Linked DNA regions of Homo sapiens: region 2 is linked to region 1. The links are contacts of gene promoters, found by promoter capture Hi-C in human tissues and cell types (Jung and others, 2019). All regions are on one chromosome and are shown on one strand. The core of a region is centred on a gene start or on the middle of the fragment in contact, and the rest is flanking DNA. Distances in the headings are between cores, read along the strand shown.

Region 1 (7,380 bases), core at 1,791-4,290:
AGCTAGGAGGGTTGATGGCCCACAGAAAGTTCCATGAGGCCACCTGGAATTGTCCAGAATGCCCAGACTCACCTACTGCTTCTGAAGATAAGACTTGTCATAGCTCCTCCCCTGCCTGAGTGAATTTAAGACTTCAAAGAGTGTCCACTGTGTGGAGGTGCCAGGGAAGCGGGGAATCAGGCCAGTGCTGCTCCCCTCCCTGCACCTCAGTTTCCCATAGATAAGATGAGAATGTCGGACTAGATGATTTCATAGGCCCTTCCAGCTCAAAACACAGGTCCATGCCAGGACCCAGCAGAGAACAGGGGAGACTGAACCCAGGTCAGCTTAAAGGAGCCCCTGGAAGAGTTCAGAGAAAAGATGAAAAGAGAGAAGGTGGGAGGAGGAAGGGTGGGAGTGGGGAGAGAGGGAAGGAGAAAAAGAGAAAGAAAATCTATTTCCATATCCCAAATTAAAAATGCATCTAGCATGTAAGATTTCCCAAATTTATAGTGTCTTTAAAAAAAAAAAGTTAATTTGAACATATTGAATTTAGGATCACAGCATGTAAAAAGTGATAGATCCCCCAATAAGGTGGATTTGACTTGGGGAGGGACTGCCTGGGGCAGAGAATCCCAAAGGGAAGGATGAAGCGTGTGGGATGGGAGAGGAAGGGTGACGGAGGGAGAGGTAGGGTGACGGAGGGAGAGGTAGCGTGACGGAGGCAGGGCTCTTCTGGTCACTTTCTCTCCCACTTTAGCTGAAGCATCCCCCCACACCCACAGTCCCCACTTTAGCCAGAGCACCTCTATTGTCTGCTTTATACATTGATCTTATGAACCCAATATATTGTTTGAATAAAAGGTTTCTGGTGCTTTTTTTTAAAAAGCCACTTAACTAATGAAGAGAAACAAGAGGCACAGAGAGAGTGATTTGTCCAAGGTCATATAACAAGTGCATCACACAATTCCTGATATCACTAATCCAATCACATCCATTAGGGGTTGGGGGGCGCTGCCCGGATGCAGCTGCCCCTGGCTGGGCAGTTCAGATATGTATACTCTGGCTTAACTCCAGCAGCCTCAGCGGGGAGTCACCAGGCTCCTTTAAACAACATTCCACTAGGACAGGAACAGATGGATAACCCAAGCCAATTAGGAACCAGAAAATCTCCAAGAGGCCAAATGCCCAGAACAGGGGGAGCTCAGGGCGGCAGCCCAGCTCACTGCAAGCCTCACAGTCGAAAATCTTCCTAAAACAACCCCTTGGCTGCCTTGGAGCATAATTTAATCTTCCTTTGATGACTCCAGATCTCGCCCTGCCTCAGGCCACTCTGAGAACATCAATAACTGCTGGGCCCAGGTGGGAAGCCGAGGGGCAGGGCTGGACCCAGGTTGACCAGCTGACCCTGCCCTGCGGTAGGAGGGAAGCTCAGTCTGGACCCTGGGGGCTGGATACTGCCTTGGTGGAGAGGGGGGCCCAGGAGGAGAATGGAAAGCCCTCCCCAACCAAGAAGGGGAGCCCTAAAGGGGCCCCTCCCTAGCCCCTAGAGCAGGTGGGAAGGGGCAGCTCCCAGGGGTTTCTGGAGGTAGGAACAGAGAGGTAAAGGCAGGCAGGAGTGATGTTGAAGACCAGCCTAGGTGACTTTTTTTTTTTTTTTTTTGAGACGTAGTCTTGCTCTGTCACCGAGGCTGGAGTGCAGTGGCACGATCTTGGCTCACTGCAACCTCTGCCTCCTGGGTTCCAGTGATTCTCCTGCCTCAGCTTCCCAAGTAGCTGGGACTATAGGCGCGTGCCACATGCCTGGCTAATTTTTGTATTTTTAGTAGAGATGGGGTTTCACCATATTGGCCAGGCTGGTCTGGAACTCCTGACCTCGTGACCCACCCACCTTGGCCTCCCAGACTGCTGGGATTACAGGCTTGAGCCACCCCGCCCAGACCTCTAGGTGGCTCTTTAAGGGAGAGGCAATATATTAATAGTACAGTGCCCCCATAGGCTTCGTAGAGAATGTTGGTTCTAAGGGAGGGAATAGGCTTAGGGCCACCCTGCCCCTGCCCTGTGCTTCCTGGCTGGGGGATGGTGAGGAGGTCACTTAATCTCCCTTTGCCTCAGTTCCCTAATTATTAATGCTAGACTAGTCACAGGGCTGCCGTGAGGGTTAAAAGAGCCTAATGTTGGTGGCTAGAAGTTGAGGTCTTAGACTGAAGTCTCTGCTGAGGAAAAGACCAGAAGAACAGATAGGCTCTCAGGTGAGACTGGACATTTTGCTTTGTTTTGATTTGTTTTGTTTGGCTTGTCTGTATTTCCCATGTTTTATGCAGGAAACACACATTATTATATAATTAAAATAATATTCAGAGTGAAAATAAAACAGCAGGGACTACATTTGGTCCCCAGGGGGAAGCGGCTGATCAGGAGAGAAGCCTGTCCATTGAGGGTGGGATGGAAGGGGGCAGTTCACCTGTGTCAGAGACACAGACACGGAGGTCCTGGCTGCCCCAGGGGCCCAGGAGATGGCAGCCCTGCGTCCTCAGGGATAGATGAAAGTGACATTTTCTGTCTGGGTGTGCCCTAACACTTCCTGAGAGGCAAATCCCCTTCCCCTACTCGGGAGGTGCCAGGCAGGGGAGGTAGCACACAGGAGAATGCTGCCTGCTTACGGGCACCAGTGCCTTTCCCATTGGTTGTCCTCAGCATCAAGTCCTCTGAACATCAGTTGAGAGGGACCTTGAACCCTCAGAGGTCAGGCCAGATTCCTTCCCAGAATCTCCCCTCGGTGAGCCTGCCAGGGCTGCTCGCGTTGGGCGGATGTACAAAACGGAGGCACGTCTCAGACTTCCCATTTGGGCCCGTGGTGTCCAGCCAGCAGCCCTGCTAGGCTCAGCCACGCTGCCCCACCCCCAGCGGCCCTCGCTGAGGCAGCCCTTTGAGGAGAGCTGGGCTTGGTGGGTCCACAGCACTCTCCCTGCCAGTGACGTTAATCCGCAAAAGAAAGTCAAACATTAGCCCGGGAAACAGCTTATGCCTTATATAAGCCCCCCTGGGGGAGGCACAAACACAGCTTGTTAGAGCTGAGCTGCCCTACTACAGCAGCTGCCGGCCCCTAGGACAGAGCAGGGACCTCAACTACACTGATCACCAGCCCCATCGGATCCAGACCCGGCCACCAGGTGAGGAGGGATGGAGGGCCTCCCCAGCCCAGGCACCTAGGAATCCCAGGGATCTCCCAAGGCCAGGCTCCACTTGCGACTAGCCAAGCCCCTAGTGCCCTCTGAGACCTGCTTCGGGCTCTTACAGATACTCCAGCATGGTGGGCCCAGCCCCAGGGAACTGCCAGAAGCCAGGAGGCTCTGAGCTTGGGGAGGCCTTTCCCAGCAGACAACCTGAACTCTGCTAACCCTGTGTATCTGCCTGGAGCAACTGGGGACATTCACCACCCACCCTCTAATCTGTCCTTTGTAGCCAACATCCAAGGCTGGGCCCCTTGGTCCCTGCTACGTGTCCTGCACTGCTCCATGCATGCAGCATGTGCAACCAGCCTAGCTGAGCACACACATGCTCGTGTCCGCAGGTGCACACGCTCACAACACATACCCGAGCTCACGCAGCTGTGTCCTTATGCTGCAGCCTAAATGAGCACATACCCATAGATACCTTTGTGTCCACACACCTGGACACACACTTCCACCTTTGATCCCACAGCCCTCCGTGCAGCTGGGCTCTTCCTCAGACATCCACACAAGAATCTGCGGCTCCACATGCCTGAGCTTCCACATCTTTACACACTTACACATGCTCTGCTCCACACACCTGTGCTCGCATATCCACCTGGTTCACCCTCCCACATATCGTTCCATAGACCCACGCACTACCAGGCACAAATATACCTCTCCCTGGCCTATGCCCTGCCCACAGCTCTGGCTCGTCTTGCCCCAGTGCCATGACCTTCTCGGAGATCCTGGACCGTGTGGGAAGCATGGGCCATTTCCAGTTCCTGCATGTAGCCATACTGGGCCTCCCGATCCTCAACATGGCCAACCACAACCTGCTGCAGATCTTCACAGCCGCCACCCCTGTCCACCACTGTCGCCCGCCCCACAATGCCTCCACAGGGCCTTGGGTGCTCCCCATGGGCCCAAATGGGAAGCCTGAGAGGTGCCTCCGTTTTGTACATCCGCCCAATGCCAGCCTGCCCAATGACACCCAGAGGGCCATGGAGCCATGCCTGGATGGCTGGGTCTACAACAGCACCAAGGACTCCATTGTGACAGAGGTATGCCTGGGCAAACCCTCTCCCTCCACTTACCCACGTACCCCCATACCCTGCACCGCTGGTGGGCAGCAGAGGAGGCTGGGGTCTGGTGTTCCCAGGAACTGAGGACAGGTCACTGGGCAGGCAAAGAGGAAGGACCTGAGTGCAGAAGCTCATGCACCAAGACCCTTGGCTTCTTCCCACTCAGAGTCCAAGCAGTGCTTCAACAAACTGCTACTGAGGGCCTGTTCTGTGACGGGCACAGAGCTAAGCTCTGGGAATACAAAAATGCACCATGCCTGCTCCCAGGGGGTCTACAGCCCGGTGGAGATAGCACCCATTAAGGAAAACACCACACAAATAAGTGTAAAATTGCAACTTCAAAGTGACCTTGCACTATGACCGACCTCTGGGGTGGGTGTGAGAGTGAGGGCGTGGGGAATGGGTGTTGAAGGAATCCTCCCTACAGAAATGCCCCTGGAACTGAGATATAAACATCAGTCAAGGGCCAAACAGGCAGTGAGGGAAAGGAGGAAAAGTCCGTCTTGTGCAAAGACCCCAAGGTGGGAGGGCTGTGGAGGAGGGACCGCACAGAGGGGAGGCTTGAAACACTCCACAGCAGACCCAGAAAATGTCTCATCCACACACACACAGTCACTCATGGGTTCACCTCTCATTCCCACAGCCCTTCACTGATTCATTGACTCTCTCACCTGCCACCTCGGGGAAATCCAGAGTTAAATCAGACTCTTCAATGAACTGACAGGCCAGTCAGGAGCCTATGATAGGATGAAGATGAGAAATTGGGGATTGGCATGTATTGGGCGTCACTAACTGACAGGCACATTTGGGGGCTTTGTAGACACTGTCTTGTTTGATTCCAACGTGATGCTCCGTTGAAGGTGATTTCTATCTCCCCTTACAGAATTTTTAAAAATAAAAAACCTAAGACCCAGAGAAAGGAAATGATTGTCCAGTGCCACATGGCTGGTCAGTTTCAGAACTGGAATTTACAGCTAAAGCCCATAAGAAGTACAGGGAGACAAATGTTTACGGGGGTCCAAATGAGGGAGAAACTGTTGGATTCAAGGGAGGCTTCATGGAGGAGGTGGCGTCTGAGCAGTGAGCAGAGACCAGTGTTTTCATCCTCCCTTGGGTACCATGAACCCCTCAAGGGCAGGAGCCTGTTTTGCCTCATGAGAAGAGATGCGTTCGTTGCAAAGCCCTTACCTGGTGCCAAGCACTATACATCTGTGGGTTCCTGGAGGCCCAGGAGATGTAATCTCTTTAAGAGAAGTATTATCTCCAGTTCACAGATGAGGAAACTGAGGCTCAGCTTGATTCCATGACCTTCCCATGTTATACACGGCTAGAACCTGGCAGAGGCAGGATTTGAATTTAGGGCTATGTTCAGAGTCTGTGTGATTGTTATTCATTTGTTTAACAAATATTTTTATATAAAGTGCTTACTATGTGGTAGGCATTGTTCTAAGAGCTTCACAGATATTAACACTTTTAACCTTCCTGAACACACTGTAAGATAGTTTGTATTGTAATTCTCTCTCTCAGATGGGGAAACTGAAGCACAGAGAGGTTAAGTAGCTTGCTCGAGGTCACACAGCTAATAAGTGGCAGATTCAGGACCCAAACACACACACCTGCCCTCCACACCATGACATTTGCTGCTCTCATATACCTAGATTATATCTCCTCCCTGTCATGTTTGCTACTTTCTCCCCCCAGCACCAAGCATAATGCCTGAAACCCATCAAGTATCCATTTATTGACACCCAGTGCATAATACTGAGGACATAAAGTCGAAGAGCCGCTAGCCCTGCGTTCCCTCCAGGAGCACACCACCAGCGAGACGCAGACCCGCTCTCAAGGATCATGGGCAGTTTGGTGGAATACACACGTTTCCCAAGGCAGGGATTTTCTGCTGCTTTGTTTACTACTCTTATCTGCAGCAGCTAGAATAGTGCCTGGTACAGAGGAGGTGTTCTGTGGAATGAATGAATATGCGCTTTGTACACTCAGAGTGCTCTGAGGCCCAGGGGAGGGTTATCTAACCAGCCTGGAGTGAGGATTGAGGCGGGCTTGCTGGAGTCAGTAATGCCCACACTGGGCATGGAGAGGTAGGAGTTAGTGAGCAGCGCACTCCAGGCAAAAGGAAGGATGGTGGGGGAGAAGGGTCAAACGCAAAGACACAGAGGCAAGAAGAAAGGCCGGGCGCAGTAGCTCATGCCTGTAATCCCAGCACTTTGGGAGGTGAGAGTTAGTGAGCAGTGAACCCCAGGCAAAAGGAAGAGTGGCGGGGAAGGAGGGTCAAATGCAAAGGCACAGAAGCAAGAAGAAAGGCCGGGTGCAGTGGCTCACACCTGTAATCCCAGCTACTTTGGGAGGCCAAGGCAGGCAGATCACCTGAGGTCAGGAGTTTGAGACCAGCCTGGCCAATATGGTGAAACCCTGTCTCTACTAAAAACATAAAAATTAGCAAGGTGTGGTGGTGCACACCTGTAGTCCCAGCTACTCAAGTGGCTGAGACAGGAGAATTGCTTGAACCTAGGAGGCGGAGGTTGCAGTGAGCCAAGATCACACCACTGCACTCCAGCCTGGGCACAGAGCAAGACAACCCCATCTCAAAAAAAAAAAAAAAGAAAAAGAGAGCAAAAAGTCAAGATTGCAGTTTCCAGGGGAAGGCTGGAGGAGTGAGCAGTAGGATATGGAGGTCCCCAGACATGGAGCTAGAGAGGACAGCAAGAGGGCCCAGCTTGGATGCTACAGAGGTAAAGGTGTGGCCTTTGTCCTAAGGGCAATGGGGAGCCAGTGACTGTGGTGGTGTTAAGCAGGAGAGTGACACCACAGGTCACCTTCGAAGGCTCGTCACTCTGACTGCCCCTTAGAGGGTAGTTTGTGGAGTGTTTTAGTCCAGCAGCAGGGAGACCCGTTAGCAAGCTGCACAGGGATCCAGGACAAAGACGACAGATAGAAGGGACAGTCAGAATAGATACCAGGAAGGCCAGGAAGTTGGAGTCTCTGGGACCTGGTAACTGAATGCAACTGAATGATGCAGGGAGTGAGGGACAGGGAGGGAGTCAAAGATGCCTCAATAGCCATAAGTAAGTTTCCAAATGTACAGGTGACTT
Region 2 (7,562 bases), core at 677-3,176, 250 kb before region 1:
GAAGGGATTTTTAGAGTAGTTTACAGGATTTTACATTTACATATAGAAGTTAGCTCAATACAGGGAGAGGAAAGCGGTTTGAGGCAGAAGGTGCCTTCCTGTTTGAAAGCACAAATTTGTGAAACAGTGTTATTGGCCTTGAAAATATTCTTAGCCACCTAGATCCTGTGAGATAAATCATTACAGACACTTTTAGACTGGCCATATTTTCCTACCTGCAGTGTAAGTGCTTATGTGCAGTGGATAGTCATTATAAAATCTGAGGGTTGTGCAAGCACTGTGGCACTCGCAGGATTGGAAGACATTGCACCTCTAACCTGGATGCTGATCCTGTGGAATAGCTTTAATAGGTAATTTTTGCAAAGTAAGAACCCAGGATGACTTGGCTTAAGGATGAGATATTTAGGGCTTTCTGTGTCCTGGCAGAGCTCCTTCTGGAGGAGGCAGTCAACCATGGCTGTCACTGAAGCATGTCACCCACAAGGACACTGAGAGGAGTTTAGATGCTCAATGCCATCTAATAGTCTCAGTTAAAACTTGTGACCTTTGAGTCTATCTCACTTACATATTACCTGTATATATTTCTGGGTTAGAGAGTTCATTTTCCCCTTGTGTTCAGACTTAGGCCTCTGTGCCATTAATTCAAATAGCAGAATTAATGAATTAATTAAACATTCGAATTTAAAAAGTGAATAAATAAGGTTTCTCAGGTCATAGGTCCAAGTTAATATCCATTAACAGTAAAAAGATGGGCAGAGGGGGCCAAGATGGCCTATTAGAAGCAGCTGCAGTTGGTGGCGCCCACCAAGAAGAGCAAAAATGGTGAGTGGATCCTGTGCCTTCAACTGAGGTATCCAGGTTCTCTCATTGGGACTGACTAGGCGGTTGGCATGATCCACTGAGAGTAAGAAAAAGCAAGATGGAACGAGGGCCCACCCAGGAGTTGCATGGAGTAAGGGGAGCCCCCACTCCCAGCCAAGGGAGGGAGTGAGTGATTGTGGTACCCTGCCTGAGAAACCACGCTCTTTCCACGGATCTGTGCAACCCATGGATCAAGAGATCCCTCGTGAGCCCACACCACCAGGGCCTTGGGACCCAAGCACAGAGCTGTGCAAGCTCTTGGTGGCTGCCCAGGTTGCAGCCAGTGGCAGCAGGACAGAGACTGCCTAAGAAGACAACCATCACTGTGGCTCCAGTCTGCTGTTCTCCCCTGCTGGTGCCAGGAAGACTGGGCAGTTTGGACCAGCAGGAATTCTCCGCAGCATGGAACAGCAGCTGTGGCAGATTGTGGCCAGACCCTCTGGTCCCAAATGATTCCATCCCTCTGATGTACTACATTATCATGTGTGAAATGTCCAGAAAAGTATTATTTCATTATAGCACACACTCAAAGTCCAGAATCTTACCATTTAAATGAGGTTCAAGTGTAAGTGAGACTACTTACATGGAGTTCTCTGGCTTTTATCTTTGTATTTGTTAATCTGTGAAACTGAAGAGACAAGACACTTGTCTCCAAAACACTCAACACACAATAATAATACAAGCATCCAATTACTACTGTAGACATTCCCGTTCAAAATGGAGGAGACGTGAGACACAAGGAGTTCAGAGCAATTATGAAGTGCACTTAGGCAAATATTAGAAGTTCCTTGAATAGGTCTGGAGGCATGAAAAATGAAAGCAATTTGGCTCTCAGCCACAGCCTCGTGCCACTTGGATCCAACATTTTTTTTAAAAGACAGAACATACCTCTAAGTGAATAGTATTCTCAGCTACCTTCCCACCCAGAGCATTTTGAGGACTACACAGCCTTTTTATTTTTGTACTGTCTTTGCCCCTTGCAGTCAAATTGGCAGCATTTTTCTGATAAAGATTTCTTTAAAAAGTTGTGGATGTTCTGTGAATCTCTTTGTGGTTTATCTTATTAGAGAAAATCTACCCCAACAAATATCTTTGAGATAAACTTTTCACCTTGGGCTTCTGCTGAGATGGTGAAGAAACAGTGCACCTAAGTATCCTAGAGCCTCTGTTGTTTGATTGAGGGGCATGTCCTTAATCTTTTTAAAGGCCCTTTGTTTCTCAGTAATACACAGAATCTTTGACCTTTCTGGGACCTTAAGAAATGTTGTACCGGGCAGACCTGGCAAGACGGCCAAATAGGAACAGCTCCGGTCTGCAGCTCCCGGTGAGATCAACATAGAAGGCAGGTGATTTCTGCTTTTCCAACTGAGGTACCCGGCTCGTCTCATTGGGACTGGTTAGACAGTGGGTGTAGCCCATGGAGGGTGAGCCGAAGCAGGGTGGGGCATTGCCTCACCCCAGAAGTGCAAGGGGTCAAGGAACTCCCTCCTCTAGCCAAGGGAGGCCTTGAGGGACTGTGCCATGAGGAACAGTCCCAGCCCAGATACTATGCTTTTCCCATGGTCTTCCCAACCCACAGACCAGGACATTCCCCAGGGTGCCTACACCACCAGAGCCCTGAGTTTCAAGCACAAAACTGGGTGGCCGTTTGGGCAGACACCAAGCTAGCTGCAGGAATTTCTTTTCATATCCCAGTGGTGCCTGGAATGCCAGCAAGACAGCCATTCACTCCCCTGGAAAGGGGGCTGAAGCCAGGGAGCCAAGTGGTCTAGCTCAATGGATCCCACCCCCATAGAGCCCAGCAAGCTAAGATCCACTGGCTTGAAATTCTCCCTGCCAGCACAGCAGTCTGAAGTCGACCTGGGAACTAAGCTTGAGCTTAGTGCGGGGAGGGGCATCTGCCATTACTGAGGCTTGAGTAGTTGGTTTTCCCCTTACAGTGTAAAAAAGCCACAGCGAAGTTCCAACTGGGCAGAGACCTCCACAGCTCAGCAAAGCCACTATAGCCATACTGCCTCTCTAGATTCCTCCTCTCCAGGCAGGGCATCTCTGAAAAAAAGGCAGCAGCCCCAGTCAGGGGCTTATAGATAAAATTCCCATCTCCCTGGGACAGAGCACCTGGGGGAAGGAGTGGCTGTTGGCGCAGCTTCAGCAGACTTAAACGCCACTGCCTGCAGGCTCTGAAGAGAGCAGCAGATCTCCCAGCACAGTGCACTAGCTCTGCTAAGGGTCAGACTGCCTCCTCAAGTGGGTCCCTGACACCCATGTCTCCTGACTGGGAGACACCTCCCAGCAGGGGCTACAGACACCTCATACAGGAGAGCTCCGCCTGGCATCTGGTATGTGCCCCTCTGGGATGAAGCTTCCAGAGGAAGGAACAGGCAGCAATCTTTGCTGTTCTGCAGCCTCCACTGGTGATACCAGTCAAACAGTGTCTGGAGTGGACCTCCAGCAAACTCCAGCAGACCTGCAGCAGAGGGGCCTGACTGTTAGAAGGAGAACTAACAAACAGAAAAAAATAGCATCAACATCAACAAAAAGGATGTCCATTCAGAAACCAATGCCAAAGATCAAAGGTAGATATACCTATGAAGATGGGGAGAAACCAGCACGAAAAGGCTGAAAATTCCAAAAACCAGAATGCCTCTTCTTCCCCAAAGGATCACAACTCCTCACCAGCAAGGAAACAAAACTGGGTGGAGAATGAGTTTGACAAATTGACAGAAGTAGACTTCAGAATGTGGGTAATAATAAACTCCTCCAAGCTAAAGGAGCATGTTCTAACCCAATGCAAGGAAGCTAAGAACCTTGAAAAAGATTACTGGAACTGCTAACTAGAATAACCAGTTTAGAGAAGAATATAAGTGAGCTGATGGAGTGAAAAACACAGCACGAGAACTTCGTGAAGCATACACAAGTATCAATAGCCAAATCAATCAAACAGAAGAAGGGATATCAGAGATTGAAGATCAACTTAATGAAATAAAGTGTGAAGACAAGATTAGAGAAAAAATAATGAAAAGGAACCAACAAAGCCTCCAAGAAATATGGGACTATGTGAAAAGACCAAACATGCATTTGATTGCTATACCTGAAAGAGAAAAGGAGAATGGAACCAAGTTGGAAAACACTCTTCAGGATATTATCCAGGAGAACTTTACCAACCTAGCAAGGCAGGCCAACATTCAACTTCAGGAAATACAGAGAACACCACAAAGATACTCCTTGAAAAGAGCAACCCCAAGACACACAATTGTCAGATTCACCAAGGTTGAAATGAAGGAAAAAATGTTAATGGCAGCCAGAGAGAAAGGTCGGGTTACCCACGAAGGGAAGCCCATCAGACTAACAGTGGATCTCTCTGCAAAAACCCTGCAAGCCAGAAGACAGTGGGGACCAATATCCAACATTCTTAAGCAAATAATTTTCAACCCAGAATTGCATATCCAGCCAAACTAAGCTTCATAAGTGAAGGAGAAATAAAATCCTTTACAGACAAGCAAATGCTGAGAGATTTTGTCTATGCCAGGCCTATCTTACACGAGCTCCTGAAGGAAGCACTAAACATGGAAAGGGACAACCAGTACCAGCCACTGCAAAAACATGCTAAATTGTAAAGACCATCGATCTATGAAGAAACTGCATCAACTAATGGACAAAATAACCAGCTAACACCATAATGACAGAATCAAATTCATACATAATAATATTAATCTTAAATGTAAATGGGCTAAATGCCCCAATTAAAAGACAGACTGGCAAATTAGATGAAGAGTCAAGACCCATCAGTGTCCTGTATTCAGGAGACCCATCTCACATACTGAGACACACATAGGCTCAAAATAAAGGGATGGAGGAATATTTACCAAGCAAGTGGAAAGAAAGAAAAAAAAAGCAGGGGTTGCAATCCTAGTCTCTGATAAAACAGACTTTAAACTAACACAGATCAAAAGAGACAAAGAAGGGCATTACATAATGGCAAAGGGATCAATGCAACAAGAACAGCTAACTATCCTAAATATATATATGCATCCAGTACAGGAGCACCCAGATTCATAAAGCAAGTTCTTAGAGATCTACAAAGAGACTCAGACTCCCAAAAATAATAGTGGGAGATTTGAACACCCCACTGTCAATATTAGATGGATCAATGAGACAGGAAATTAACAAGAATATTCAGAAATTGAACTCAGCTCTGGACCAAGAAGACCTAATAGACATCTACAGAACTCTTCAGCCAAAATCAACAGAATATACATTCTTCTCAGCACCACATCGCACTTATTCTAAAACTGACTACGTAATTGGAAGTAAAATACTCCTCAGAAAATACAAAAAAACAGAAATCATAACAAACAGTCTCTCAGACCACAGTACAATCAAATTAGAACTCAAGATTAAGAAACTCACTCAAAACCACACAACTACATGGAAACTGAAAAAAAAAAAAAAACTGCTCCTGAATGACTACTGGGTAAATAATGAAATTAAGGCAGAAACAAATAAGTTCTTTGAAACCAATGAGAACAAAGGCACAATGTACCAGAATCTCTGGGACACAACTAAAGCACTCTTTAGAGGGAAATTTATAGCACTAAATGCCCACAAGAGAAAGCAGGAAAAATCTAAAATCGACACCCTAACATCACGGTTGATAAAACTAGAGAAGCAAGAGCCAACAAATTCAAAAGCTAGCAGAAGACAAGAAATAACTAAGATCAGAGCAGAACTGAAGGAGATAGAGACATGAAAAACCCTTCAAAAAAATCAATAAATCCTGGAGCAGGTTTTTAGAAAAGATCACTGAAATAGATAGACTGCTAGCAAGACTAATCAAGAAGAAAGGAGAGAAGAATAAAAGACACAATAAAAAAGTGATAAAAGGAATATCACCAGTGATCCCACAGAAATACAAACTACCATCAGAGAATATTATAAACACCTCTACACAAATAAACTAGAAAATCTAGAAGAAATGGATAAATTCCTGAACAAATATACCCTACCAAGTCTAAACCAGGAAGAAGTCCAATCCCTGAATAGACCAATAACAAGTTCTGAAATTGAGGCAGTAATAGCCTACTAATCAAAAAATGTCCAGGACCAGATGGAGTCACAGCTGAATTCTACTAGAGTTACAAAGAGGAGCTGCTATCATTCCTTCTGAAATTATTCCAAACAATAGAAAAAGAGGGAATCCTCCCTAATTCATTTTATGAGGACAGCATCATCCTGATACCAAGATCTGGCAGAGACACAACAAAAACAACAAAGAAATTTCAGGCCAATATCCCTGATGAACACCTAGATGAAAATCCTCAATAAAATACTGGCCAACTGAATCCAGCAGCACATCAAAAAGCTTATCCACCATGATCAAGTTGGCTTCATCTCTAGGATGCAAGGCTGGTTCAACACGTGCAAATCAATAAACGTAATCCATCACATAAACAGGACCAAAGACAAAAACCGCATGATTATCTCAATAGATGCAGAAAAGGCCTGCAATAAAATTCAACACCATTCCATGCTAAAAAAAAAAAAAAAACTCTCAATAAACTATGTATTGATGGAACATATCTCAAAATAATAAGAGCTATTTCTGACAAACCCACAGCCAATATCATACTGAATGGGCAAAAACTGGAAGCATTCCTTTGAAAACTGGCACAAGAAAAGGATGCCCTCTCTCATCACTCCTATTCAAAATAGTATTGGAAATTCTGGCCAGGGCAATCAGACAAGAGAAGGAAGGGGAGGGGAGGGGAGGGGAGGGGAGGGGAGGGAAGGGAAGGGAAGGGAAGGGAAGGGAAGGGAAGGGAAGGGAAGGGAAGGGAAGGGAAGGGAAGGGAAGGGAAGGGAAGGGAAGGGAAGGGAAGGGAAGGGAAGGGGAGACAAAGAAAGGAAGAAAGAAAGAAAGAAAGAAAGAAAGAAAGAAAGAAAGAAAGAAAGAGAAAGAAAGAAAGAAAGAAAGAAAGAAAGAAAGGAAAGAAAGAAAGAGAGAAAGAGAGAGAGAGAAAGAAAGAAAGAAAAAGAAAAGAAAAAGAAAGAGAAAGAAAGAAAGGAAGGAAGGGAGAAGGGAGGGAGGGAGGGAATCAAATTTTCTCTGTTTGCAGATATCATAATTGTATATTTAGAAAACATCATCATCTCAGCCCAAAATCTCCTTAAGCTGACAAGCAACTTCAGCAAAGTCTCAGGATACAAAATCAATGTGCAAAAATCACAAGCATTCCTATACACTAGTAATAGACAAACAGAGAGCCAAATAATGAATGAACTCCCATTCACAATTGCTAAAAAAGAATTAAATACCTAGTAATACAACTTATAAGGGATGTGAAGGATCTCTTCAAGGAGAACTGCAAACCACTGCTCAGGGAAATAAGAGAGGACAGAAACAAACAGAAAAACATTCCATGCTCATGGATAGGAGGAATCAATATCATAAAAATGGCCATACTACCCAAAGTAATTTATAGATTCAATGCTATCCCAATCAAGCTACCATTAATTTTTTTCACAGAATTAGAAAAAACTACTTTGAATTTCATATGGAACCAAAAAAGAGCCCGCATAGCCAAGACAATCCTAAGCAAAAAGAACAAAGCTGGAAACATCATGCTACCTGACTTCAAACTACACTACAAGGTTACAGTAACAAAAACAGCATGGCACTTGTACCAAAACTGATATACAGA

What was found. The method cuts DNA at HindIII sites, captures the fragments that hold promoters and counts their contacts. A contact is called where the count stands out against the background at its distance.
Region 2: a fragment that was not itself captured here is called in contact with the fragment with the promoter of SLC22A8 in region 1 in 4 of the 25 tissues and cell types used here (H1 embryonic stem cells, bladder, mesendoderm cells and 1 more).

What each region holds. Positions count from the first base shown.
Region 1 is chr11:63,011,501-63,018,880 of GRCh38, reverse strand. SLC22A8 (solute carrier family 22 member 8) reads left to right here and starts at 3,040. Exons shown (of 11, transcript NM_004254.4): 1 at 3,040-3,152; 2 at 3,898-4,255. The coding sequence starts at 3,923. RefSeq lists enhancers at 991-1,490, 3,181-4,035. The HindIII fragment of the contact is 24,341 bases long and covers 1-7,380 here.
Region 2 is chr11:63,256,849-63,264,410 of GRCh38, reverse strand. No RefSeq gene overlaps it. Among named protein-coding and RNA genes, the nearest start is that of SLC22A25, 17 kb to the right of the region's middle. The HindIII fragment of the contact is 6,692 bases long and covers 1-5,272 here.